7 separate regions of the Homo sapiens genome follow, and regions 1, 2, 3, 4, 5 and 6 are each linked to region 7. The links are contacts of gene promoters, found by promoter capture Hi-C in blood cells and fetal thymus (Javierre and others, 2016). All regions are on one chromosome and are shown on one strand. Each heading gives the region's core, a stretch centred on a gene start or on the middle of the fragment in contact. The rest is flanking DNA. Distances are from core to core; before and after follow the strand shown. Region 1 overlaps USP33 (ubiquitin specific peptidase 33). Region 2 overlaps ZZZ3 (zinc finger ZZ-type containing 3). Region 3 overlaps ZZZ3 (zinc finger ZZ-type containing 3). Region 4 has its middle 6.0 kb from the start of ZZZ3. Region 5 overlaps ZZZ3 (zinc finger ZZ-type containing 3). Region 6 overlaps USP33 (ubiquitin specific peptidase 33). Region 7 holds the start of MSH4 (mutS homolog 4).

Evidence for each region. Contacts are between HindIII fragments. The CHiCAGO score rates a contact against its expected background, and 5 or more counts as called.
Region 1: a fragment that was not itself captured here is called in contact with the fragment with the promoter of MSH4 in region 7 in 3 of 17 cell types (naive CD4 T cells, non-activated CD4 T cells and total CD4 T cells); the score reaches 5.4 in naive CD4 T cells.
Region 2: a fragment that was not itself captured here is called in contact with the fragment with the promoter of MSH4 in region 7 in 4 of 17 cell types (non-activated CD4 T cells, naive CD8 T cells, monocytes and 1 more); the score reaches 10.1 in non-activated CD4 T cells.
Region 3: a fragment that was not itself captured here is called in contact with the fragment with the promoter of MSH4 in region 7 in 5 of 17 cell types (non-activated CD4 T cells, naive CD8 T cells, activated CD4 T cells and 2 more); the score reaches 11.4 in non-activated CD4 T cells.
Region 4: a fragment that was not itself captured here is called in contact with the fragment with the promoter of MSH4 in region 7 in 4 of 17 cell types (non-activated CD4 T cells, naive CD8 T cells, monocytes and 1 more); the score reaches 8.2 in non-activated CD4 T cells.
Region 5: a fragment that was not itself captured here is called in contact with the fragment with the promoter of MSH4 in region 7 in 3 of 17 cell types (non-activated CD4 T cells, naive CD8 T cells and naive CD4 T cells); the score reaches 8.0 in non-activated CD4 T cells.
Region 6: a contact is called between a fragment that was not itself captured here and the fragment with the promoter of MSH4 in region 7, in 5 of 17 cell types (non-activated CD4 T cells, monocytes, naive CD8 T cells and 2 more). The highest score is 9.1, in non-activated CD4 T cells.

The regions. Positions count from the first base shown.
Region 1 is chr1:77,709,223-77,713,021 of GRCh38, forward strand. USP33 (ubiquitin specific peptidase 33) reads right to left here. Exons shown (of 24, transcript NM_201624.3): 21 at 2,525-2,633. Among named protein-coding and RNA genes, the nearest start is that of ZZZ3, 28 kb to the left of the region's middle. The HindIII fragment of the contact is 8,441 bases long and covers 1-3,799 here.
Region 2 is chr1:77,638,212-77,642,139 of GRCh38, forward strand. ZZZ3 (zinc finger ZZ-type containing 3) reads right to left here. Exons shown (of 15, transcript NM_015534.6): 2 at 3,311-3,444; 3 at 3,173-3,235; 4 at 1,238-1,391. Among named protein-coding and RNA genes, the nearest start is that of ZZZ3, 42 kb to the right of the region's middle. The HindIII fragment of the contact is 3,645 bases long and covers 342-3,928 here.
Region 3 is chr1:77,662,883-77,666,839 of GRCh38, forward strand. All of the region lies in intron 1 of ZZZ3 (zinc finger ZZ-type containing 3), which reads right to left. Among named protein-coding and RNA genes, the nearest start is that of ZZZ3, 18 kb to the right of the region's middle. The HindIII fragment of the contact is 7,724 bases long and covers 1-3,957 here.
Region 4 is chr1:77,686,608-77,690,754 of GRCh38, forward strand. No RefSeq gene overlaps it. Among named protein-coding and RNA genes, the nearest start is that of ZZZ3, 6.0 kb to the left of the region's middle. The HindIII fragment of the contact is 1,611 bases long and covers 1,923-3,533 here.
Region 5 is chr1:77,615,424-77,619,460 of GRCh38, forward strand. All of the region lies in intron 5 of ZZZ3 (zinc finger ZZ-type containing 3), which reads right to left. Among named protein-coding and RNA genes, the nearest start is that of ZZZ3, 65 kb to the right of the region's middle. The HindIII fragment of the contact is 5,876 bases long and covers 1-4,037 here.
Region 6 is chr1:77,735,034-77,738,682 of GRCh38, forward strand. USP33 (ubiquitin specific peptidase 33) reads right to left here. Exons shown (of 24, transcript NM_201624.3): 6 at 1,023-1,125. Among named protein-coding and RNA genes, the nearest start is that of USP33, 23 kb to the right of the region's middle. The HindIII fragment of the contact is 3,222 bases long and covers 563-3,649 here.
Region 7 is chr1:75,795,566-75,799,475 of GRCh38, forward strand. MSH4 (mutS homolog 4) reads left to right here and starts at 1,317. Exons shown (of 20, transcript NM_002440.4): 1 at 1,317-1,664. The coding sequence starts at 1,421. The HindIII fragment of the contact is 6,934 bases long and covers 1-2,833 here.

The DNA.
Region 1 (3,799 bases), core at 1,066-3,565, 1.9 Mb after region 7:
TTGAGGCTAGGCACAGTAGTTTATGCTTGTAATCCCAGAGCTTTGGGAGGCAGAGGCAGGAAAATCACTTGAGGCCAGGAATTAGAGACCAGCCTGAGCAAGACAGCAAGACACTGTCTCTACAAAAAAATTTATTTTTTAAATTAGCTACACATGGTGGTGTGCATCTGTAGTCCTAGCTACTCGGGATGCTGAGGCAGGAGGATCCCTTTAGCCTAGGAGTTCAAGGTTACAGTGAACTATGACCAGCCACTGCATTCCAGCCTGGTGACAGAATGAGACCCTGTCTTTTAAAATAAAATTTAGAAATATATAGATATATATAGATACATATCTATATATCTATATTTTATATACATGTTTAATTTTAACATTCTGTAAATATAGAACATATTCTCTCTCTATATAAAGCTACATATAGATCTATCTAGATAGATCTATATATATATATGTCTCTGACAGCTAGGTATGATCAATCCTACTGGAGTAATCAATAGATTGGAGTAATCAATCTATATATAGATATAGATATCTATATAAACATATAGACATATATATATCTGAGAGCTAGGTATGATCAATCCTACTGGAGTAATCATTGATCCAAGGCACTTTCAGTGAGAGTTAAGAAATATCAAGTTTCTATACATGCATACACATACACACACACACACACACACACACACACACGTCCATATTTACTCAGCTATTATCATGAGTTCACAAAGATACCCATAACTCCAATCCAATAACAACACAAGGTACAGTTTAGTTTTCTCCTTTTCCATATTTGAAACTTCCTCATCTGACAATGAGAAACTTGGTACTCATTACACGTATGTCTTGATCATTTTCCCATATGGAACCAATCGCTCACTGCCACTACCACCACTATGCTGTACCCTTGTAGCCACCAATGTCAGGCCAACATGGGCATCCCTTCTTATCCTGCCTGGGCTCTAACACCCTTGACTGGGCTCATGCCACTCACTATACAGAAATTCTCTTTACCCTCTGTGGTTATAAACACCATTCTTGGCCACTGCTTCTCTCCCACCCACAATGTGGTACCCTATTCCACTTTTAGATTTCCTGAAAGTCAGCAGTGGTCTTCTTGACCTTCACTGCCCAGTCCTTTCAATAGTAATGTACATCTCTCATTCCCTACATTCTGATTCTATTCAAAATACTTAGAATAGCTACTATTAATCAAATCCTGACAGACACAGTCATTAGCCATTATTTAAGCATTGATGGAAAAAACTATTTTTAATATTCAACTAAAGTTTGCTTCCTTAGATTCAAGAAGCAAATGAAGCCCATGTAAAATAAATAAATCTATACCTGCATCTTTTTTATGTAAAATTTACTTTACTTTAGGCAAGGGCACAAAAAAAGCCCTGAATCAATGAGGAAAAGCAGGTGTGTGTGTGTGTCTACACATGTGCAGGAAATGAATAATACAAAACATACTGGACATCTTATTTTGATCTGCTCAATATCTTCTCCACTGCTTTTACTAAAAGAATCCCAATTTTTTTCTTGCAGTATTACTCCTCCCCATAATAGTGTCTCAGTAGATTTATGAATAAACGTGTCTCTCAAGTGATCCAAATTTTCAATTGTCTTAAATAGTTGGAGTTATGTTACTGACAACAGTACTGCAGAGACTTCTTGCTACGTCAATAATTGGAAGGGTACTAGTCCTTGCCCATAAAACCTGGTTGTTCATGCTTTTGATTTTATGACCACACTTTCTGTTGCTTACAATTAAGGGACACCTCATAATATGCTCAGTTTGTGAAAAGTGAGTATATTTATAAGCCCAGGAGTCCCTCAAAAAAACAAAAGAATATTATATCTCACAAAAGAATCAAAGTAGTACATGCAGTCTGGATAGACTACAGACAACACTAACTTAAGGAAACCTGTAATTTTCCATTTCAATAAGATTTCTGCCAGTGCCAATACATTAAAAAAAAAAAAAGTATTGTCAATCCATAAAAGCAAAAACCCACAAAGGGGCCAGGAGCAGTGGCTCATGCCTATAATCCCAGTACTTTGTGGGGCCAAGACAGCAAATCACATGAGGTCAGGAGTTCGAGACCAGCATGGCCAACATGGCAAAACCCTGTCTCTACTAAAAATACAAAAATTAGCCTAGCGTGGTGGGGCATGCCTGTAGTTCCAGCTACTTGGGAAGCTGAGGCAGGAGAATTGCTTGAACCTAGGAGGCAGAGGTTGCTGTGAGCCGAGATTGCACCACTGCACTCCAGCCTGGGCGACAGAGCAAGATTTTGTCTCATACACACACACACACACACACACACACACACACAAAGGGAGAACATAACTCAACAGAACTGTAGTGAACTGCCTGAGGTCATTCACCATTATGCACCTAGAACACTTGAAATCTATTACAACTCTTTCATCTAATCATTTTATTAATATCATATAACTCTGATAATTGTCAGGTCTTCATCTTTATCCTAGATCAATTTGAAAAGCATCACTTTTTTACCCGAATAAAAATTTCCAATTCAGTTTTTCTTCTTTTTTCAATTTTCTCCGCCTCAATTTGGCAAGTATGACAAATGTACAGATGGTTGACAGCTGGTCCTCCACCATACCTAAAGCATGAAAAATTTAAGAATTAATGTTCTAGGAAGTTTGTTTCTAACATTTAAGTCAGTGGCCAAATACCCAGTAAAAATAAATCCTCTTAATAAAATTCTCAAAGTAATATAAAAATCAAAAATCATATAAGGACTTGTTATTATGTTTATTAAGGTCAGTGACTTTATCAGTTTATTGCTTAACCTGCTTTATCTATATTTCAACTTTCCCTTATTTCTGCTCCAAAATGTTAGAGCCAACAACAAACTAAAAGAAGTGGTTTCAAAAAGTATCATACAACATATAAATCTTAGTTACACATCACAGTCATAGTCAAGTTTTCATCAGATGAAGGCCTCCCCTGGCCTCTCAAGTAAGAAGCATTCAATGTATGAATTATTTTTAATATTTAATTAAAGAAAACATAATTAGTAGGAAAACTGTGGTGGAAAATGTTTTAAAATAAAGGTCAGGAGTTGCGAGACCAACCTGGCCAATGTGGTGAAACCCCGTCTCTATTAAAAATATAAACATTAGCCAGGCATGGTGATGTGTGCCTGTAATCCCAGGTACTTGGGAGGGTGAGGCACAAAATCGCTTGAAACTGGGAGGCAGAGGTTGCAGTGAGCTGAGATTGCACCACTGCACTCCCGACTGGGCGACAGAGCGAGACTCCATCTTAAAATTTTAAAGTTTACGATGTTAAGGCCAGGCCCAGTGATGCATGCCTGTAATCCCAATACTTTGGACTTTGGGAGGCCAAAGCAGCCACATGGCTTGAGCCCAGGAGTTCAAGATCAGCCCAGGAGTTCAAGATCAGCCCAGGCAACATGGCAAAACCCCATCTCTACAAAAAACACCCCAAAATTAGCCAGACATGGTGATGCACGCCTGTGATCCCAGCTACTAGGCAGGCTGAAGTGAGAGGACCACTGGAGCCTAGGAGGTCGACGCTGCAGTAAGCCAAGATCGTGCCACTGCACTCCAGCCTGGTTGATGGAGCAAGACCTTGTCTCAAAAAAAAAGAAAAAAAAATTTACAATTTAAGAGTAAGATACTCAATTGTGTGAGTATATACATATGTAAAATTTTAGTGTGGGGATATGCAAAGTATTTTAAACAAGGTACTTAAATTACCACAGCATACCTTCACAGATAGATAATTAGAAAAAATTAAAAT
Region 2 (3,928 bases), core at 914-3,413, 1.8 Mb after region 7:
CCGAATTTCAACTTGTCCATTCATATTAAGCCCTCAATCCTACCTATAATTTCACATATCCTACCCACATATTTGCTGCTGAATTGCCCTCTCATAAATTTGAATCTACTGTTACCCAAATATAACTATAGGATTCTGAAAAACACTCTTTGAAGCATTATCAGCTACATTTCAGGTCATAAATTTCCAGCTCCTATGATCATACCTGTAGAACTGTACGCATAAGAACTAAAACAGATAATAATTATTAAACAAAAAAGGCCCACCTAATGACACACTTCTCCAGCTATTTACTTAAGAGAAAGAAATTTCAAAAAGATATTTCAAAGACCTTGCCTATAAGCTTTTGTTCCTACTATAATCACCAAAGTGGTACAGTTTATTTTGGGAATTGAGCAGCTGGCAATCTTCCATCACACCAATGGTTTAGCTGATATTTATTATCATAATATTTAGTTTTATTAAGTGAAAAATTTTTAGTAAACTGGTCATGATACCAGAATATATTCACATAGACAAACCAAAGTAAAAGGAAAAAAGAGCAAATGCAACTGGAAAGTGTAACCAATATGATTCTTTTTCTAGTTGTCTAAACATAAACTATTTAATAACGTTGAGGCCATGTTTGTCATATAATTATTTTAAGACAATACCTCAGCAGTGCAATTACCACCATATCTATAATGTTAAAAGTAGAAGAGTAAAACCTGGCTGGTAACCCACCCATGCAATTCAACTTAAGGTTCTTAAATAGTCACCTCTTTGAAGTCTGGGAACTCTATTATGCATTGTTTTACATAAAGAGACTTCTTATTTCTTTCCCATTAAGAGAAACTGATATATGACAGATGGTCGGTAGGTAGGTAGGTAGGTAGGTAGGCAGGCAGATAAGCGGACAGTCAGACAGACAGACAGACAGATAGACAAAAGTAAATGAACACACACTTTAAAAGACGATCAGGAAAAGGAAGTCAAGGAATTTCACAATGCCTCCTGAGTAAAAAATTCCAACATAATCAGTCACTTCATTTATACCCCATTGAAAAAAAAAGGGAGGGAAATATTTCATTCCTAACCCATTCCCTGCAGCTCCATACTCCTATAAACAGCCAGCCAAACTACAAGTTGCCACCCAGAGGATGTATGGAAAAATAACAAGTCTCCCCATCTCAAAAAAAAAAAAGAAGAAGAAGTCAAACTATAGCTGTCTTCACTACTGCAAAACTAAATAACTTACCTGTACAACCAAAGATCTATCATTGTGGAAATATAATCTCTTTTCCTTATATCCTGAAGGAGTTGGAGCTATGATCTAGAATGGAGCTTAAGCATCAGGGTTTCAGACTCTCTCAGCTTCAGCCATGAAGAATACTAGAACCTCCTAAATTTTTCTTTAAAATAAAATAATGAAAAAAAAGGATTAAAGAAGATGATGAACTTATGCTAATAGATTTACTCCTTCTATAATAAGAAGAAATACAGGTACAGAAACTGTTCATAGTGACATCTTTCATGCTTCTCGGTAACTCTGTAGCCTCAAGAATACTAAGAAACTGAAATAGGATTTTTAGAAATCAACAAAAGCAAACCAAAAAGATACTAAAATATACCAAATCCTTACAACTCAATATTAGTTTGAACTGAGTCAAAATGTGACTTGCTCTTTTCTAGACATTGCTCTAAGGGAGTATTTTTTTTTTTTTTTGCGGTGATAAAGGTTGCCCTTGATAGCATTTCTCATAACAGAATTTATAATATCATCTCGTACTCTTGTCCTAGAGGACTTCCCAAATTCTCGACATCAAGTATACATAACCATTTAGGTTATGCATAAAAGAATCACACAAATAATCAACCAAATCTTCTATACCTATAGGAAAACCTTGATGCTTATTCAAGTGCTACAAAATTCAATTACAAAAGGACATTTCTATTATTTTTGGCATATGTATTTTTAACAAGAACAAGAACAACAAGGATTTTCCGGTTTTAGTACCCAATTAGCCAGACAATTTAATTAATCTAATTACATTCCATTTCTTAGAACAGTCTGGTTAATTTTTACTATATAATAATTTATTATGATATCCTTTTCAAAGAATGTACAGGCCAGGTGCAGTGGCTCGCACCTGTAATCCCAGCACTTTGGGAGGCCAAGACAGGTGGATCACAAGGTCAGGAGTTCGAGACCAGCCTGGCCAACATGGTGAAACCCCATCTCTACTAAAAATACAAAAAATTAGCTGGGCATGGTGGTGTGCGCCTGTAATCCTAGCTACTCAGGAGGCTGAGGCAGGAGAATCGCTTGAACCTGGGAGGCAGAGGTTGCAGTGAGCCAAGATCACCCCATTGCACTCCAGCCTGGGCAACAAGAGCAAAACTCAGTCTCAAAAAAAAAAAAAAAAAGAGAGAATGTACAATCTGCTAAATGGGTTACTATGAGTGCCCATCTGAAAACAAGGAAGAGGACTAAGAAAACGACCAGCAGATGTTTATGACAGAAACTGTCGCTTTATTATAAGCATAAAACTAGATATTATAATAGTGATACATTTTGGGGAAAGCATTACAACTTAAAGACTGATATAATTACAAAATCTTGTAATTACTAGGCAGACTTACTGCATAATAAAAATAGGTTACTGCTCTAGTCAGCTAGAAAGAGAATAGGGATAGTAATATCTAATATCTATAGATGCCACCTCTCCCAAACATGCCCTGGAAATGCTTTAAAAAGCACAAGGTAGGAAAATTGTCTAATAACCATTTAATACTACAGTACATTAAGAAATGTTCTAAGTTAACATGGGGAGAAGCTCAGCGAAAACATGATCCTACATAAAGTAACCCTTGACTTGAAAACCCACTCTTCTTATAACAGACTCCAAGTGACAACTCCTTTGTACCAAACACTGAAGCCTTTCACAAACATGGCAAAACATTACGTTTTACAGTGTGTGATGGTAGTAGCAATCATCAAAAGCAAAGAACATCTACAACTTAAAGTATATCTCTGAGCATACTGGAATGTGCCCTAGTAGCACTCTATCAAGTTCTAATCAACCACATAACTACTCTATTTGAATAGAGTTCACTATAGGAAGATTATCCACTACGATATTTAGCAGGCAAGAACATCTGCAACTGTTATTTTCACAGAACTGATACTTACAGCTGAGCTCTATCAGCATTAAGATAGACAGGATCCTGCAGTGTTTCTTAAAAGCCTGATACACTGAAAAAGAAACTTCAATCAATTACTTCTAACTAAACCCCACATGGCCTTAATTAAGATTACATTATTTCTTACCTTTTAAAAAGCGTTTTGCCTAGTATTTGATCCCCATGCGTCTGTATTTATCTGTCATCACTGTTAATTGTCCATGTTACACTGAGACTTCAGGTATTATTTATTTATATGGTTGTACTAGAATAACTTGATATCTGTGAAGAGAAACCATAATATAGTCACTATAGATGTGTTACCGTTTACAAATTTGTGAATAAAATTGGTAATATTTCCAAACACTTATATAGCACACTTCATTTTCTACTAAACTTCACAAGTAATTCCTTACATTTAGCTGTGAAATATGTGTCTTCAACAAACTAAGATGATTGGCTAACACTTCCAAGTTCTTCTCAGGGAGTACCCACATACAAACATTCTAAATTTAATTCCATACTTAAACCCTTACAAATTGAAGAGCTCCTCAGGTTCCTTTTCTTACCACCAATATAGACATATGTCATTTTCCTTAAGTCTACAATTACTCTCCATTAATAGAAAAAGTACTTTTTTGTGTGTTTTATATTTTAGGGAATAAATCTATAATTAAAAATGAAGTAAAAAAAAGATAATGACGGTCCTTTAAATGTCACTTTAAACATCTGATATCTTTCTTAAGTAATTTTGGAAGTAAACAGA
Region 3 (3,957 bases), core at 562-3,061, 1.9 Mb after region 7:
TCCCTCGATCTCAGGAGTTGGAGACCAGCCTGGATAATATAGTGACGCTCCGTCTCTACAAAAAAACAAAACATTAGCCAGGCATGGTAGCACGCACCTGTAGTCCCACCTATTCGGGAGGCTGACGTGAAAAGATTGCCTGGGGCTGGCAGGTGGAAGTTGCAGTGAACCATGATCACGCTACTGCACTCCAGGCTGGGTAACACAGTGAGACCCGGTCTCAAAAAAAAAATTAATAAAAAAAAAAATTTGACTAACTGTTCCAGATTAAAGGAGACTGGAGAGACATGAAATCAAATGCAATGTATGATCTTCGATTTTAAAAAGCTATAAAAATAATTATTAGGATAATTGAAAAAATTTGATTGTGGACTGTAAATTAGATAATGGTATTAATGTTAAGTTTCCTAATTTTGATCACTGTAACTGCAGTTAAGAGAATATCTTAGTTCTCAGAAAAAAAAAGTCTGGTGGTATCCTGGATCTAATTCTACCCTGTAGAACAACTCATTACAGCCCTGCATTACCTGAAAACAACTGTCCCCTTCCCTCCTTCACTCATTCCTGTCAAGTCTTCCTTCTCCACAATAAGCACTCTCAATTCCTTCAAAGGTTCTCATGGGTTACCCTCCTCTTGACATATCTATCTTTTCATTTACTTTTCTTAAAGTGTAGCTTTCAGAAATAAGGCCAACATTGTAAATGTGTCCTAACCAACATGGAATGAATATCATATCCCTTATTATGGACAAAATCCTATTACTGCAGCCTGGTACTTCATTTGTTTTTTCTTTTTTAAGCAACTCACCAGTTGGATGTCTGAGACTATATAAAACTAAACTCCTAATAATATACAATCAGTAAACCCTATTTTTTTTTTTTTGAGACGGAGTTTCGCTTTTGTTGCCCAGGCTGGAGTGCAATGGCGCGATCTTGGCTCACCGCAACCCTCCACCTCCCGGGTTCAAGCGATTCTCCTGCCTTAGCCTCCTGAGTAGCTGGGATTACAGGTGCGTGCCACCACGCCTGGCTAATTTTTGCATTTTTAGTAGAGACGGGGTTTCATCATATTGGTCAGGCTGGTCTCGAATTCCTGACCTCAGGTGATCCGCCCGCCTCAGCCTCCCAAAATGTTGGGATTACAGGTGTGAGCCATGGCACCCGGCTAATAAACCCTACTTATTCTATCACCAAAATGTCTTGGAAAAAAAAAAAAACAAACTATCTACTCTTTCTGTTCTATTGTTATTGCTCCAGCTCAGGCCATCATCATTCTATTTAAACAACTGTAGTAGCCTAATTAATCTCTCATTCCAATTTACTCTTTATTTGCCCACAAATATATCTGTCTTAATAAACACTGTCCTGAATCTGATTTTTCAGTACCTTAAAGAAGAATGGGGAGGGAAAGAAAGGAGATGACTTTCTCCCCTCTTCAATTCCTAGAAAACTCTTATTCCTCAAAGGCCAATTCAATGATCCATCAGAATTAACTACTCTCTCCTTTGCTCCCATAATGCTTAATAATCCTATCATAAAATTACAATGTATAGTTTGATATATCTATATTCCCCATTCAATTATAGGCTCCTCGAAGGAATAGAGCAATACATTTTTTATTCTCTTAGTACATACAGTGCCTTAACATTAATTGAACAAAATTTTACTCATGTAATTTTTTCTATCTGAATTCCATATTTTTTTAATTCCACACTTTTAAGCAGCTCACACTATAGGTTTCTGCCTGTAGTTTCAGACAGAACTTACAAGTTGTTTTAGTTATCCTTGCCAGCTAAATTGTTCTGACATTTTATAAGCACAACTGTACATTTATTCAAAACATTAATGAAAATATTAAAAATGGACAACAAAAAGTACCTTTTTAGATACTTCTCTCAAAGTCTGACATTAATTCCTTCTAACAGTATTTAAGAAAGTTTATTTTACACTATTAATGAAATGTTCTTAATGCTGATGAGCTAAGCCTGTACTTCTCTGCCTCTTCTCCAAGGCATACCTAGGAAAACAATCTCCAAAACTACTGGTTTCCTTTTTAAAAATAAGACCTTATGCTGTTTCTAGTCTTCTGGCATACTTTTTGTTACAACAAATTAACAAAAGCTATCAATACCTCTCAGTTCCTTAATGTCTTTAAATGATCTAAAACCTGTGCTATCAGCCAGACAGAAAATGGATTCCTGGAATCCAATCAAGTGGTGAAATAATCTGGGTGAGGTTTACAAAACTTGATCTGGCAATAGAGTTAAAAAGCAATTACAAAACAATTACAAAAGGTCTTAAACTTCAATTCAGAAGAAACCAACATCAACTTAGAGTTCCACTGTTACCATACAGACAATTTTTACTGACAGTTCATTATGTCCATCTGTGACATGAGAAAAACCACCTAGACAAAGACAGCTTCCAAGGCCAATGTCAAGCTGATAAACAGCCTGTCAAGAGATGGTAACTGAACTGTGGACATAAAGTATGTCACAGGAATCTCAACTTGCTGAAGACAGCAAAACTGTTCCCGAAGGTAAGTGACTGCCCAACGTCCATGATTAATTAGAATATTGAAATTACGTATATCAAACTCATGATACTAATACTGTGTGGTTTAAAACTATCCTAAATATTTTTAAGTTCCTATAGACAATGATAGTTTCTAAATTTAAAATAGTAACTGACTTCACGCTTATGATTTTAAGTTTAAAAGTGTATGAATATTTAGCTTGGTTAATAAGAATACTGGAATGTTTAAGAAAATTTGTGATTCACTGTCTCATTCATTAAATTTAAAATTTTTATATTTACCAATTATAACTCAATAAAGCTAGAGAAAATATAAAATTTTAAAGTTTTAAAGTATTTGGGAAGCCAGGTGTGGTGGCTCATACCTGTAATCCCAGCACTTTGGGAGGCCGAGGCGGGCGGATCACCTGACGTCAGAGTTCAAGACCAGCCTGGCCAACATGGCAAAACCCAGTCTCCACTAAGATAAAAAAATCAGCCAGGCGTGGTGGCACACGCCTGTAATCTCCGCTACTCAAGAGGCTGAGGCAGGAGAATCGCTTGAACCCAGAAGGCGGAGGGTGCCGTGAGCCGAGATTGCGCCAGTACACTCCAGCCTGGGAGAGACAGCGAGACTCCATCTCAAAAATAAATAAAGTATTTGGGAAAATCCTACTTGTTGAAATTTACTCCACAAGGAATAGTGCTTAAAACTAAAACAGTATATCAAACGTATATACGGAATGTAATTAAGTTAAGCAGCAGTAGCAGTGGTAATAGCTAATATTCACACTGCAATGTTCCTAGGGCTCACAACCTTGTTCCAACACTTTACAGTATAAATTCATGCATTCTGGCACGTTGGCTTATGCCTGTAATCCCAGCACTTTGGGAGGCCAAGGCAGACAGATCACTTGAGGTCAGGAGTTTTAAGACTAGCCTGTTCACCAACACAGTGAAACCCTGCCTCTACTAATAATACAAAAATTAGCCAGGTGTGGTGGTGCACGCTTGTAATTCCAGCTACTTGGGAAGCAGAGGTGGGAAGATCGCTTAAACCCAGGAGGTAGAGGTTGCAGTGAGCCAAGATCGTGCCACTGCACTCCAGCCTGGGCGACACAGAGCCAGACTCCATCTCAAAGAATAATAATAATATAAATACTTATATGGACTAAACGTGTGTGTCCCCATTCATGTGTTGAAATCTCGCTCAATAAATAAATAAATAAATTCAGCAAGTATTCACTGACCATCTCCCATGAACTAGGCATCATTCCAGGCTCTAAGAACTGCAGCAGAAAAAACATAATCCCATCCTTCATGGATATTATATTCTTAGAAGAGACAATAAACATCAGGTATGATCATTACTATTAAGAAAAACCAGGGAAAGTGAAGGAAGAAGATACTATTTTAGGTAGTAAAATGAGGTTCACACCAAAG
Region 4 (4,147 bases), core at 1,478-3,977, 1.9 Mb after region 7:
AAAATCATTGATGTAGTTCATTCTTTCAACAAATATGCCAGGTGCCATACAAGGTGCTAGAGATACAGTGGTGAACAAAGCAAGCACAGGCCCTACTCTGACAGAGCTCACAGTCTAGGGAGGGAGGCTGACATTTAAAATATAATCACATAAATTCAAACTGGTTAGTACCATTCATGAAAAGTGCAGGTCACCCGTCTGGGAAGTGAGAAGCGCCTCTGCCCAGCTGCCGCCCTGTCTGTAAAGTGATGAGCCCTCCTGCCTGGCCGCCCAACTGTCTGGGAAGTGAGGAGCGCCACTGCCCGGCCACTGCACCATCTGGGATGTCAGGAGCCCATCTGCCCGGCCCGCACCGTCTGGGAAGTGAGGAGCACCCCTGCCCCGCCGCCTCACCTTCTGGGAAGTGAGGAGCACTTCTGCCCCGCCCCCATCCCGTCTGGGAAGTGAGGAGCACCTCTGCCCCGCTGCTCCACCATCTGGGAAGTGAGAGCACCTCTGCCCCGCTGCTCCACCGTCTGGGAAGTGAGGAGCGCCTCTGCCCTGCCCTCCCCCCTCCACCCCCCCCCCACGCCCCCCGCCACCCCACCGTCTGGGAAGTGAGAAGCACCTCTGCCTGGCTGCTCCACTGTCTGGCAAGTGAGGAGCGCCTCTGCCCAGCTCCCGCCCCGTCTGGAAAGTGAGGAGCGCCTCTGCCTGGCCACCCAACTGTCTGGGAAGTTCGGAGCGCCACTGCCCGGCCACTGACATCTGGGATGTCAGGAGCCCATCTGCCCGGCCTGCACCGTCTGGGAAGTGAGGAGCGCTTCTGCCTGGCCCCCACCCCCTCTAGGAAGTGAGGAGCGCCTCTGCCCAGTCCCCCCATTGTCTGGGAAGTGAGGAGCGCTTCTGCCTGGCCCCCACCCCGTCTAGGAAGTGAGGAGCGCCTCTGCTCGGCCCCCACCCCATCTGGGAAGTGAGGAGCGCCTCTGACCGGCCCCCACCCCGTCTAGGAAGTGAGGAGCACATCTGCCCGGCCCCCACCCCGTCTGCGAAGTGAGGAGGGCCTCTGCCCGGCCACCACACCGTCTGGAATGTGAGGAGCAAGTCGGGGAAGTGAGGAGGGCCTCTGCCCGGCCGCCCCGCCCCCCACCCCTCCTTCCATCTGGGAAGTGAGGAGCGCCTCTGCTGGCCGCTGTGCAACCCTCCAAGTGTGAAGTGACAGCCTTGTGCGTGCTCTTTCTGCCCTCCCCAAGTTTGCATTTTCGACATTAAAGTTTACTTTTTTTTTTGAGACGGATCGCTCTGTCGCCCAGGCTGGAATGCAGTGGCGCGATCTCGGGTCACTGCAAGCTCCGCCCCCCAGGTTCACGCCATTCTCCTGCCTCAGCCTCCCGAGTAGCTGGGACTACAGCCACCCGCCACTACGCCCGGCTAATTTTTTGTATTTTTAGCAGAGGCGGGGTTTCGCCGTGTTAGTCAGGATGGTCTCGATCTCCTGACCTTGTGATCCGCCCACCTCGGCCTCCCAAAGTGCTGAGATTACAGGCGTGAGCCACCGCGCCCGGCCTTAAAGTTTACTTTTTAATTAAAAGTTTTAAATTGGAGAATATACAAAAAAAAAGCGCAGGTCACTATGAGAATATGTCCATATACCCAAAAGTACATACATGTTCTAAAGTACTTCTGAGGAAGCAACATCCAATCTGAGATGAAGTATGCATTCACCACTTCTAAAGTGTGAATGCATTTAGGAGTTGGGCAAAGGTGGGAAAAACACTCCAGAGAAAGAGAACAGTTGATGCAAAGCCCCCTACATGGGATGGAAGTTATTATTTATTTACTACTACTACTTACTATTGCCTGAAAGAAACCACTGTTTTTTTTCCCACGTATATAAAATCTAAGATGAAGTCATATATCCTAATTTCTTTCATTGGATCATAAGCTTTTTTCTATGTCATTAAATATTCTTCAAAAACCCCAAGAACTGGGCCAAGCATGGTGGCTTACACCTGTAATCCCAGCACTTTGGGAGGCCAATGTGGGAGAATCACTTGAAGTCAGGAGTTCAGGCCTAGCTTGGGCAACATAGCAACATCCCATCTCTATAAAAAATATTTTAAAATTAGCCAGGCTTGGTGGTACACACCTGTACTCCCAGCTACTCTGGAGGCTAAGGCAGAAGGATTACCTGAGCCAAGGAGTTTGAGGCTGCAGTGAGCTATGATCATGCCACTGCAGCCCAGCCTGAGCCAACACAGTGGGACCCCATCTCTAAAAAATAAAAATAAACCCTGATAAATGATTGCATAATTTATTTAACCACTTTTCTGTTTGGGGGCACTATCATGGCATTATGATTGGTTTAATAAGTGCCCTCATGTCCAAACGCAGTATATGTCCAGATCTTTTGGGGGCTGAATCTCTTAAGATTTGGGTGGTTGAATTAGTGGGAAGTGAAAGGAGAGTCTAGGCTTGGGTGACCACGGAGATGGAGGTGTTATTGATGACCACAGAAAATACTAAAGTAGGAGCAAGTTTAGATGGGGTAATGATGTGTTTCATTAGAGTATACTGAGTTTCAGGCAACCCCAGTACATCTAAATGAAGAACCCAAGAGTCAGTTAGATACATGTCGAGGATGCTGGCTTCAGGTCTGAGCTGGAAGTACAGGTTTGTGAGTCTTTAGCTTAGAAATAGTTAACTGGAACCTGAGGTTTAGATTTGGTTACCCAGGGAGAGCAGAGTGAGAAAAACAAAATCAAGAACAAAACCCTGAGAAGCACTGACATTGTTGAGGTCAAGGAAGAAAGTAAAAACTACAAAGGAGAAATGAGGGACCAGAACTGTAAAGGAAAACTGAACAGTGGTAACCAAAAACCAGTGAGGAAGAAATTTGAAAATGGAGTCCTAAATGTGAACTTATTAGACAAATTTACCAGGAACCTATTTTGTCTCATACATTATGTTAAACACAAGGGGGTGAACAAGACAAAACCTTTTGGTGCCTACTGTCTGGTGGGGAAGACATTGCTGTACATCACCAAAAAGGCCATATTTTTAATAACTATACCTTGCTTCTTTCTAAAAAGACATGTAGCTTACCCAAAAAAATCAGTATAATAGGTAAAATACAATTCAAAATAATTAAAATGGGAAATTTAGGGCAAAAAGAAAATAGAAACAAAAATGATGCACAAAAATACATGCTTGGTTGGATGCACTGGCTCACACCTCTGTAGTCCCAGCACTTTGGGAGGACAAGCTAGAAGGATTGCTTGAGCACAGGAGTTCAAGGTCAACCTGGGCAACATAGTGAGACCCCATCTCTACAAAAAATAAAAATAAATTAGCCAGGTGTGGTGGTGCATGCCTGTGGTCCCAGCTGAGCCTGAGGTGGAAGGATTGCTTGAGCATGGGAGGTTGAGGCTGCAGTGAGCCATGACCATGCCACTGCACTCCAGCCTAGGCAACACTGCACAACTGTCTCAAAATAAATAATTTAAAAAAACAAAAACAAAAACCATGCTCTAAGGTCCTGAACACTTGCTTTAAGCTTTGTAGCAGATGTTGTAACAAGGAAAAACAAAATCAGTTATAACAGGTTCAGTATGCCTAGGGTAACAAATATTTTGCCCACAGGAGGCATTACTACTCCAGGACTAAGACTAAAGATGAATTTCTCTCAGTTTCTCACAACGACAACATCATGTGAAGAGTATCCTTAACAGCATCTTTCTAGTAAATCCAACAGTTAATTTTATAGGACTCCTTATTACAACATCTCTCAGTCTAGGCTGAAAGCAATTCTGTGGGCTTGGAAGAGGTAAACAGCATATCCTAGGTAGGAAACTCTTATAGTCTGTGTGTGTGTGTATGTGTGTGTGTGTGTATGTGTGTGTTTCAAATTAGCATGACTTCAACCCTAAAAACCAGCATTTCTGCGTAAATTTCCTAACAAGGTTGTTCTCCTATGTTACTGGTTATCATACTCAAGAAACTTAACATTGATATATTACCTAATATCTAATACATATTCTATATTCAAATTTCCTAAACTGTTCCAATATTGTTCCTTAGATATTATCTTTTCCAATCCAGGGCCCAACCTAGGATCACACATTGCATTTAGTAGTCATGTTCTCTTAATCTTCATCTAGCCTTTTTC
Region 5 (4,037 bases), core at 1,401-3,900, 1.8 Mb after region 7:
ACAATCTCACAATCTAGGAAAAAAGATGGTTAAATTAACAGTCCACTAAGTGTTACATGCTATATGGTGCGTATGCAAAATGCCTATGGAGTTGTTCTGCTAGAATTCTTTAGAGCCAAATTTATGAGTCACATTTAGTTCAGGTTAGTGAGACATGAAAGGACATAAGTTTCACTACTTATAATTTTATTTTTGACAAAAAATATATTTCTCCATGTTACATATTTCTGCATAATTAAAAATTCTAGTAAAAATTAAATATCCTTTAAAAGGAACTGCCACCACTGAGGATATTCTGCAAACTGTTCCAAAAGTTGAGTTCCAAATATATTTTGAACAACAAGGATTGAGTCCAGTAAAGTGAGGTACTGATTCTTATAAAGAGGAAAACATTCTATTTGGTTTTATTTTTTAGATAAAACTTGGTAATTCAGTAGTGCTACCTTACAGGCATATGCTACCTAATGTAACCACTACATAATTCCTGTGTGTCAAAGGGCCCCCCCACCACACACACACACACAAAATTAACTAGTTTTTCTTTTTAATCACAATTTTAAAAGGAAATAACCACAATGACATGGAACACACTGTGTATAATGTTTATACACATTATACACTGAGTTATTTTTATCTAATAATTTGTCTCTTAAAGAATTCTCATTAATTAGTCAGACACGCTTCTTACCCCTGCTCTTGAGGAAATCATGACTCTTTCCCCCCTCAATCGTTGATTTTTCTTTAAACGCCAAATGTTCATACTTATTATCATTAGTGTTATTGGCTTCATAGTTTCTGAGTATAAAGAACATTAACAAGTTTCTAATGCCCAAGAACACTCTGGTGCTCTTCTTAGGAACACCTGCCACATTTAAAATGTCAGTGCAGTTTTAAAAGATGACACCATTTGCTTAAAAGCAACCCAAGTTATTTTCAAGACTGTTAAGTAAATGTCCATTGAACCCTGTAGTTTCTCTAAATGTGTTACTAGGATTCTGTAACCTATATACTTCAAGAGAATCTGGCACTGTGTTTAAAAACTTCCCCTAAATGCTGAAGTAAAAAATTATTGAGCAATAGGTGGCTTTTCCTTATTAAAAACAACAATTTTCACACTTTTTGCTCTATGCATCTCTACTGGTAAAAAATTAAAATTGTCAGCCGGGCGCGGAGGCTCACGCCTGTAATCCCAGTACTTTGGGAGGTCGAGGTGGGTGGATCACGAGGTCAGGAGTTCAAGACCAGTCTGGCCAATATGGTGAAACCCCATCTCTACTAAAACAAATACAAAAATTAGCCGGGGGTGGTGGCACCCACCTGTAGTCCCAGCCCAGGAGGGAGACTGAAGCAGGAGAATCGCTGGAACCCAGGAGGCGGAGGTTGCAGTGAGCCAAGATCGCGCCACTGCACTCCAGCCTGGGAAACAGAGTGAGACTTCGTCTCTAAAATAAATAAATAAATAAAATAAAAATAAAAATAAAAATTGTCAGGCATGTTCCCAATATATGTACACTTACTTATAAACTATATGTTCTACTATACTTAAATGCATTACAAATATATGTTATAATGTATTTCAAAAAACCCAGACATTCTTAAAATGAGCAAAAAACCTCTAAGTAGTATTTTCTTCTATCTCCCAGTGGATGATCTTGTGCATACCCTGGTATGCACTAATCCCCCCACGCTTTAGTTTCATCTGTCTGTGGTAAAAATCACATAAAATTTACCTTTTTAACCATTTTAAAGTATATAATCCAGTGGCACTTAGTACATTCACAATGTTGTGCAACCATCACCATTATCCAGTTCCAAAACATTTTCATCACCCCAAAAGGAAATCCTATACACATTATGCAGTCAGTCCTCATTCTACCCTTCCCCGACCCCCTGGGTAACCATTCATCTGCTTTCAGTCTCTATAAATTTGCCTCTTCTGGATTATTTCATATAAATAGAAACATATATGACCTATTGTGTCTGGTTTCTTTCATTGGTACAATGGTTTCAAGATTCATTCATATTGCAGCTTCATTCCTTTTTACAGTTGAATACAATTCCATTGTATTGATATACCTTGTTTTGTGTATCCATTCATCAGCTGATGGACACTTGAACTGTTTCTACCTTTTGGCTATTGTGAATTGTGCTGCTGTGAACATCTGTGTACAAGTTCATGTTTAAACACCTATCTTTCATTATTTGGAGTATACATCTAAAAGTGGAATTGCTGAGCCAGACGTGGTGGCTCATGCCTGTAATCCCAGCACTTTGGGAGGCCCAGGTGGGTGAATCATTTGAGGTCAGGCATTGGAGACCAGCCAAGCCAACACGTGAAACCCTGCCTCTACTGAAAAAAAAAAAAAAAAAAATTAGCCAGGCGTGGTGACAAGCACCTGTAGTCTCAGCTACTTGGGAGGCTGAGGCAAGAGAATCACTTGAACCCAGAAGGCGGAGGTTGCAGTGAAACAAGATTGCACCACTGCACTCCAGCCTAGGTGACAGAGCAAAACTCCATCTCAAAAAATAAATAAATAAATGTGGAATTGCTGAATCATATGGTAATTCTATGTTTAACTTATTGAGGAACCACCAAACTGTTATCCACAGTGGGTGCACCATTTTACCCTGCAACCAGCAATGTATTAGTGTTTCCATATCTTATTTTATAAACAATTGACCAAGAGTACAATTTTACCCAAAAAGCTAAATGGTCTATAATGGGCATGTTTTGGCAGCCTACCAACCTGCCCACATACCTTTTTGCTGGAAGATATACCCTTGCTCTAGAAGAGTAGACCAATGCAGCCTTTTTTTTTTTTTTTTTTTTTTTTTTTTGTCCAATAATCCCACCCCTGACAATTGATAATTCGGCCAGGGATGGACTGACCAAGGAAGCCAATCTATTGGATAGTCAAGAACCAGGTTCTCTTTAGAGACTGTGACGAGGCTCTGGGAATAAAATGTCATATAAAGTTGGGATCATGACAAGCACAGTAGGAAGCCAATGCCATCTGCAAAATGAAATTTCAGGGGAAAGGAAGAAAGTGTGCAAAAAACATTAATAAAATAAGAAAAACTAGCCTGTACTGTACAAAGACAAGCAGTGGTGAGAGAGTATATATAATCTTGAATACTGACAGGTTATAATTTCATGAGGTCTGCCTCGAATTTGTTTTCTGATCATGAGTATTCGCAAGATTGTTTGCTATCATTTATTTAAAATAAACCCCTTTGTTGTTTGAGATACTCTGAGTGAATTTCTGATTCCTGCAACAAGCTGCAAACAAGTTCTGATTACCTTAACTTTATTGTCCTTGTTAGTTTTAAATAGCTTAAAGAAGTTATTTACTAGTCACTGAATTTAAGTAACTTGTATAGGAAATTTTAAAACAATCTGTCAGTGTTTTTTAATCACATTATTATAACCTTCAAAAAATGGTCTTTTTCCCCTGAAGACTCAAAGATTCTTATGGGAACAGACCTTAAAAGATGACCTTTTCAATTTATCCCTAGGTTCTGCTTTTCTAAATATATGCCACAGAATTCTTGAGTTTTCTCTCTTAAAATAGAAAGCTAAATGCAACTATATTATAGCTAACAGAATAAAAATTTCACAATCATCTAGAAAAAAACCCCTGACAACCAGTCAGATCAAGATTCCCTTGATATTTCCCTACTCCAGAATTTTAGATTACCTATTCTATGAAACAATCCACTGTAAAATCTAAAATGTTTACCTCTTATTCTAGTATTACAAATACATAAAAGTTTCATATAACAGAGGCAAGTTAGTAACTTCTAGTTAAAAACTAATACTGTAACAAACAACATACCTCAAATATAGCCCAAACTACATGTATGTTAAACTATATGTAGGCTATCATTTCATAGTAACTGCAAAGACACAGCACATGTCATTTTAAATTAATTGTAGCATCTACTCAAAATTATGAGTTTTTAACCAAGAAAGTTGAGTACTATCCTCTACTGAAAATCTTTAATAGAACAGACACACATAAAAAGGCAAGGACACA
Region 6 (3,649 bases), core at 924-3,423, 1.9 Mb after region 7:
AATGGTGTGAACCCAGGAGGCGGAGCTTGCAGTGAGCCGAGATTGCACCACTGCACTCCAGCCTGGGCAACAGAGCGAGACTCCATCTCAAAAAAAAAAGAAAAAAAGAAAGTAGTATTTATTAGGTTGAACCATAGGAAACTGCTGACAATCTACAAAAATGGCAATTTCATATGGTTCAAGCTAATATTAAAACGAGCCATTGAATGACTGTTATCTCTTCCATATATAGTCAAGTTCACTTTCATCAGTTTACTTTCATTATTAAAAGATGAAATAAATACTACAAAAAATTATAAATGCTATTTGGATTTGGAGCAAAATGAAGAAAATTTAAAATTCTAAAAATCTCTAAAACAAGACTGAATTACCACTTATTGATAAGTATCCAGTAAAATTAATAGTGTGAGCTAAATTAATGGGTTAAAACTGGGAAATACATAAAATATTTATAACTTATCTCTAGTCATGTTAAGCTTAAACCAAAGTGTTAATTTCCAGATAATTATCTAAATATACATTCAATGTACCACTAGTATCAATTATAAAACAGAAAATTTTAAGCTTATACTAAGAACAGTGGGCCTAAAAGAATATGAAAAATCCAAATAGACCGGTTCTCAATTTAGGGGAAGAAGGGAGAAGTGTATCACCTGATTCTTTTTCCAAATGTTTTCCCCGGAACTTCTGCTAAGGGAATACCTTTATACCTAATACCTCCCCATCACTGACAATAGAAAAATGAGAAACACTGTTCAAACAGACCTCAAAAGGCAAGTTAAACAAAAAGATCATAAGGCTCAACTGCAAAAGAGTAAGTAGGATCCTACCTTTGGTAAACTGACACCAGAGAAACCAAAAGTTTGTTTTGCAAATAAAATTTTACTAGGCCAAATTTCAGAGTCCTTTTGTTTTAATTATCAAGCCCATTTTACCTCCACATTTTGAAACTTTTACATTATATGGTTTTCTAAAGAAATGGGCAGTGCCATACAAAGAAGCGTTACACAGGATTAATTTACCTCTGGCCCTAAGTTCATCTTCTTCATCCGCTTCTATATCCAGATCATCAAATACGGCAACCAGAGGAGTTTTTAATGTTGTATTACTGGGTATTTTAAAATCCTTGATAACAAAAAAAGATAGCACACTTGAACAAATCCTTAAATTTAAAAAAAGTTTTAATTGTAACTTATATAACATCTATACCATAAAAATTATTGAGATGTTATTTTAATAGTGGAACCATAAGAATTTGTGGTATTAGCAATTAAACTTACATTTATATTTTGAAGGAAATAAAACCCTAGGGTAATAGCATGTCAGTCCCGCTTTATTAACATATATATTTGAGTTAAAAAGGCACTTTTTACAACCGAATTTTCTGAATTAAAACTCCACAATAACTGCAATTATGTGACAGTAAACCATAGCTAAAAAGATCTCCGAAGGATACTATCCTACACTGTCTTCTCAGATCTCATTTTCAACAGGGAAAAAGGCAAAAGTTTTTCATCATAACACATTATCTATAGACTTCTACAATCTCTCCTGATACTTATTACTGTATTTACTTTGCACACTTTTTTTTTTCCGAAACAGAGTCTCACTCTGTTGCCAGGCTGGAGTGCAGTGGCACGATCTCAGCTCACTGCAACCTCCACCTCCTGGGTTCAAACGCTTCTCCTGCCTCAGACTCCCAAGCAGCTGGGACTATAGGTGCATGCCACAACGCCCAGCTAATTTTTGTATTTTTAGTAGAGAAGGGGTTTCACCATGTTGGCCTGAATGGTCTTGATCTCTTGACCTCATGATCCGCCCACCTCGGCCTCCCAAAATGCTGGGATTACAGGTGTGAGACACCACACCCGGCCTGCACACTTTTACGTATATTAAATAGTTCAAGCACTTACTTTAAATAATAATATTCTAATATTAATTTCCAACAATTGGCTTGACTCAGAGGTTGCAACTGATAACCTGTTAGCCAAATGCTAGTAAACACTTTAAAAAAAAAAACGAAAAAAACTTTGAGCTAAAGTTTAAAAAATTCGGAGACGACAAATAAAAATCAAAATTTGAAAGTTCTCTTGTAATATCAGAAGATTGAACTACAATGAACCAACATTCAGCAACACCCAAACAGAGAAGGAAACTGAATAGCAGAAAGAATTTAGCATGTACTCTGGTTCTCCAAGTTATTATAGCCTTACTTTACCTCTAAAATGCAGGCATATGCACTAATTCCCAACGATTTTACTTTCCTGACATCTGTAGAGACTGGACATTTGAGTGGACTTCATACTTTCATTTTGTTTTCATAAAGTAATTGCTTTTAAAAAGATACATGCTCACTACAAAATATCTAAATACACAGAAGTACAGAGGCTTAAATCACCTGAAATTTTACTATCTAGAAAAAATGTCTATTTGAAAAATCTTATTAATATTTGCATGGCCTCCAATATTTTACTATTTTGCAAATATCCTGTGGTAAACTGGATTTCAACAGCATATAAGTTTTGGACCACTAAAGAAATCTATCTGAACCACTGTTTTCTTCTGAATAATTTCTTCAACAATGGGATCATAAGGAAGTTGAATGAAATTAAGTTTATGCCTTTTATGTGTTAACATATTTACAAGTCATCAGAAAATTATTAACAAGCCATCAGGAAAGTATCAGTATACTTATTCTATCAGATTCAACATTTATTAAAGTTTGTAATCTTGATCTTTTCTGGCAGAAATGGCAACAGATAGCTTATTTAACTTACTTCTCTAGTAAGTGATGCTGATAGTTTTGCCTTTATATATTATTAGTTCCTTGTGTGATTAAACTTTAGTCATAACATTACACTTTTTTCTTTTTTAAAACTTTTTCTACTTATTACCATTCAGCTATCTTCAGTGGGACAAACTTTTGTTAATAATGTAAGAGGATTCAACGAAACGGCCATTTTCATACTATCTGGACTTTTGAAAAAGACTAAACATGTTTGTGAATGATAAATAGGTATAAGTGGGAGAAACAGTAATGGTTATAATTAACTAGAGCCATTCAACTGAGAAACTGAAAATGCAAGAAATTATTCTTTGACTAAAATCTAGCCATCTTTCATGTGTAAGGCAAGCAAATTTATTATCACAAATATCTACCATAAGAATGTGATACAAACATACAACAGAAAAACCTGACAGTTGGTATCAATGAACAAGTACAGAAATATGTGATTTCTATAACACACATGAGGAAAAAAACTTGCTGTTAATCAAATCTGATCAAATTCTGATCAACTGATGATCTGATTAAGAAGCCAACTATTCTAAGTTAATTTCCTTTTTCCTATTTTTCTATGACTTTAAGAATTCTGAAAATTAAGTGATAAATTCTGCAAGCAAACCCATGTGTTTTCTAAGTCTCTTGATCCAAAAGGAGAAAAATCTTTTTTTCTTTTTTTTTTTTAGATGGAGTCTCACTCTGTCACCTAGGCTGGAGTGCAGTGGCAAGGTCTCGGCTCACTGCCAGCTCTGCCTCCCAGGTTCACGCCATTCTCCTGCCTCAGCCTCCAAAGTAGCTGGGAATACAGGTGCCCGCCACCACACCCGGCTAATGTTTTGTATTTTTAGTAGAGACGGGGTGTCACCA
Region 7 (3,910 bases), core at 67-2,566:
ACCTTGTGATCCACCCACCTCGGCCTCCCAAAGTGCTGGGATTACAGGCGTGAGCCACCACGCCTGGCCTAAAATGAGTACAATCACTCTAGGGGTTTACAGTTTTGGTGAAAGTGAGGTATTCTCTATTTTTAAATTTTATTTTTTAGAGACAGGGTCTTCCTTTCTTCCCCAGGCTGGGGCATAGTAGTGCAATCACAGCTCACTGTAACCTTAAACTCCTGGGCTCAAGCAGTCCTTCCACCTCAGCCTCCTGAGTACCAGGGTCTACAGGTACCTGCCACCATGCCCACTATGCCCAGCTGATTTCTTAATTTTGGGGACAGGCACTGTCTTCCCCAGGCTGGTCTCCGGAGGTGAAGTAATCCTCTGGCCTCAGTCTCCCAAAGTACTGGGATTACAGGGAGGAGCCATCGTGCCCGATCTGAAAATAAGGTTTTTTGATGGAAATTGAGATTTTTCTCAAGTATGTTTGGAATGCCCTGTGCAATAATCATTCCAAGAACAGAGATGTTCTTAAGGACTGTTGTCACTGCATGTGGGTAAACCGCTGTGCATAACTGGTTTATTGAGATACTCAACAGTGGCAGGATTTCAGTAGTGGTGTAAATTAATGTCTTCTAATAGCTTCTGTATGGCAGTATCCAGATAATTTCGTCATGTTTAATCCATGGATCTCTGGTAAGTTGGTACTATTGGCCTTATTTAAGGAATTTTCTAAAGGTCACCACTGCAAAGCTGGAGTTTGAACTTCTAGTGTGCCATTAACTGATTTATATGTTAGAAACCACAGTACTAGAAATTGGTAGATGGGGAATTGTTAACTGAGAGATCTTACCCAGTCAGTCTTTCCCTGTTTCCTACTCTACTATGCACACAGCCATGTGCATACTATCTTTTGATAATATAACTATCTTTCCTATATTTGGTCACAAGATCAACCTTAGGTGGGTTATGCTGTGTGAGCATTACACGTTCTCATTGTGTCAAAGGCACTGGGTGTACTGTGTTGGGTGGTTTCTACATTTAAAGATAAGCTAGTGTGCTTGGACGTGTGGGAAATGCATGTAACATTTGCAATAAGGGAGATTGGGTGCTGTGAGAATAATGGGGCTAACAAATCGGGTGGTCATTGATGGGCCTTGCAGAGTTCTGGTCAGTCTGATACCTGCAGGCTGAGGATGTTCCAGTGAGGTTCATGTGGAAAGTGATGGGTTTGGGAATGGCTGGAAGCAGGGTCATAGACCTGAAGTACGTGAATCCATGTGGAAAGCTGAGCCTGCCTGCGCCTGCGCAGTGCAGCTTAGTGCGTCGGCGCGCAGTTCTCCCGCCCGTTTCAGCGGCGCAGCTTCTGTAGTTGGGCTACTGGAGGGGTCGCTCAGAAACCTCATACTTCTCGGGTCAGGGAAGGTTTGGGAGGATGCTGAGGCCTGAGATCTCATCAACCTCGCCTTCTGCCCCGGCGGTTTCCCCGTCGTCGGGAGAAACCCGCTCACCTCAGGGTCCCCGCTACAATTTCGGACTCCAGGAGACTCCACAGAGCCGCCCTTCGGTCCAGGTGGTCTCTGCATCCACCTGTCCTGGCACGTCAGGAGCTGCGGGCGACCGGAGCAGCAGCAGCAGCAGCCTTCCCTGCCCCGCGCCAAACTCCCGGCCAGCTCAAGGCAAGGAGTGATTGGGTGGAGGAGTCTCCTTGAGGCTAGAGGCCGGCAGTTCATGGAGGCTCGGGGGCACGTGGGTGGTGGTTACCACAGTGAAGTTGTGATTTGGTTGGGGCGTGAGATCTGAGTGCCCTGGGAATTTGGTGAGTCTGGGTGATTAGAAGCCTTGACTTTTCAAATTGGTTCTATTGCAAGACCTTGACTGTGGATGGCTCAGTTCTGAGAAAGGCTGAAGTATCCCATATAACGTCCCTCACAGTGTCTGACAAATGACAGTTTGTGCGTGAGTTTGCTGATAGAAGTTGTGAGCTGATCTTTGGCTGCTGAATTTAATTCTCCAAATCCTGCTAAGGTGGGATAAAATAGATTAAATTGAACATTTCATCTAATTCAGGGAAAATAATATGTTTAGTATTAAAAGAGTGGGCTGGGCGGTGGCTGACGCCTGTAATCCCAGCACTTTGGGAAACCAGGGTGGGCGGATCACTTGAGGCCGGGAGTTCCACACCAGCCTGGCCAACATGGTGAACCTCCCACCCCCATCCCCTATCTCTACTAAAAGTACAAAAATTATCTGGGTGTGGTGGCACGTGACTGTGGTCCCAGCTACTCAGGAGGTTGAGGTGGGAGGATGGCGAGTCCGGGAGGTCGAGGCTGCCGTGAGCTGAGATTGCGCCACTGCATTTCAGCCTGGGTGACACAGTGAGACCCTGACTCAAAACAAACAAACAAAAAAGATGCATGTCCTTCAAATCATTTATTATTTTGTTAGTCTCTATTCATGACAAAGCATCACCATTTTTCACACACGATTGCAACACAATGGTAAAGTAACAAATACCAAATCCAATGGTCATTTTTCAGTTCATCTCATGTGACCTTTCTGCTGTATTTAATGTTCTTAATTTCTTTATTTTTAGAAACAGAGTCTCGCTATGCTGCCCATGCTGGTCTCAAACTCCTGGTCTCAAGTGCTCCTGCCTCGGTCTGCCCAAGCATTGGGATTACAGGCATGAGCCACTGCTGCCTGGCCTATGTTTAATGTTCTTGACTGGTCTTCTCTTAAACTCTTTTAATTTGGCTTCCTTGATTCCACTTGCCCCTGTTTTTCTGCTACCTCCCAGAGAATTGCTGTGCCCACCTTTGTTCCCAAATTATGGGCATGTCATTAAAGCTTTTTTTCCTAGGCCACTTCTACCTAGATGTGACTATCTCCACAGCTCAGATCTCATCTACACTCCAGACTTACTTCAGACTGTCTTCTGAAGTTTTTATTGATGGACTAATGGATACCTCAGGCTGACTATATGATTAATTAAATTCCTCTCTGCACTTTTTTTTTTTTTTTGAGACAGAGTCTTGCTCTGTTGCCCAGGCTGGAGTGCAGTGGCATGGTCATGACTCACTGCAGCCTCAAATTCCTGGGCTCAAGCGATCCTCCCACCTCAGCCTCCCGAGTAGCTGGGACCAAGGCATGTGCCCCTACAGATGGCTAATTTAAAAAATTTTTTTGTAGAGACAGTGTTTTCCTACGTTGCCCAGCCTGGTCTCGAACTTCTAGGCTCAAGCGATCCTCCTACCTCAGCCTCCCAAAATGCTGGGATTACAGGTGTGAGCCACTGCACCTAGCCCTCAAACTCTTAAGTGTTCTTCCATCCTTGTAGCTTACTTACTGTACCACCAGAGTTATGTGGAAAATGATCTTATCATGTCCCTTGCCACTTAAATCAGTAGACCTGTATCTGCAGGTAAAAGATCAAACTCTCTAGAAGGATAGCCAAAGCAATTGGGATCGGTTTCTAATCTTTACAGATTTATCCCTCATCATTTAATATTTACCCTGCTTTCTAACAAAACTGAGCTACTTGCAATTCCTTTAAAGCAACATGAATGTTCACATTGTCAGTCTAATCCCTCTCTTCATCAGATGCTTGGTCACCCACTTATTTATCAGTAATGATAACATTCACTAATTTATATGCACCTACTTTGTTCTGGCTTCTTACTAGGCAGACGGTATCTTTGATCCTCACAATAATTTTGCAGAGTAGATTTTTTTTTTGTTCCTGTTTTACAGATAGAACCAAGGCCCAAATAGGCGAACAAAGGTTCAAATTATGTTAGCAGCTGGGGATAATAATCTGTGCTCTCAATGAACTTAAGGTTCAGTAGAGAAGACAGACTTAAAAATCAACAAATACACATTTAAGAAATAACTGTATTTGAGGTATTTATAATTTTTGAGGTAG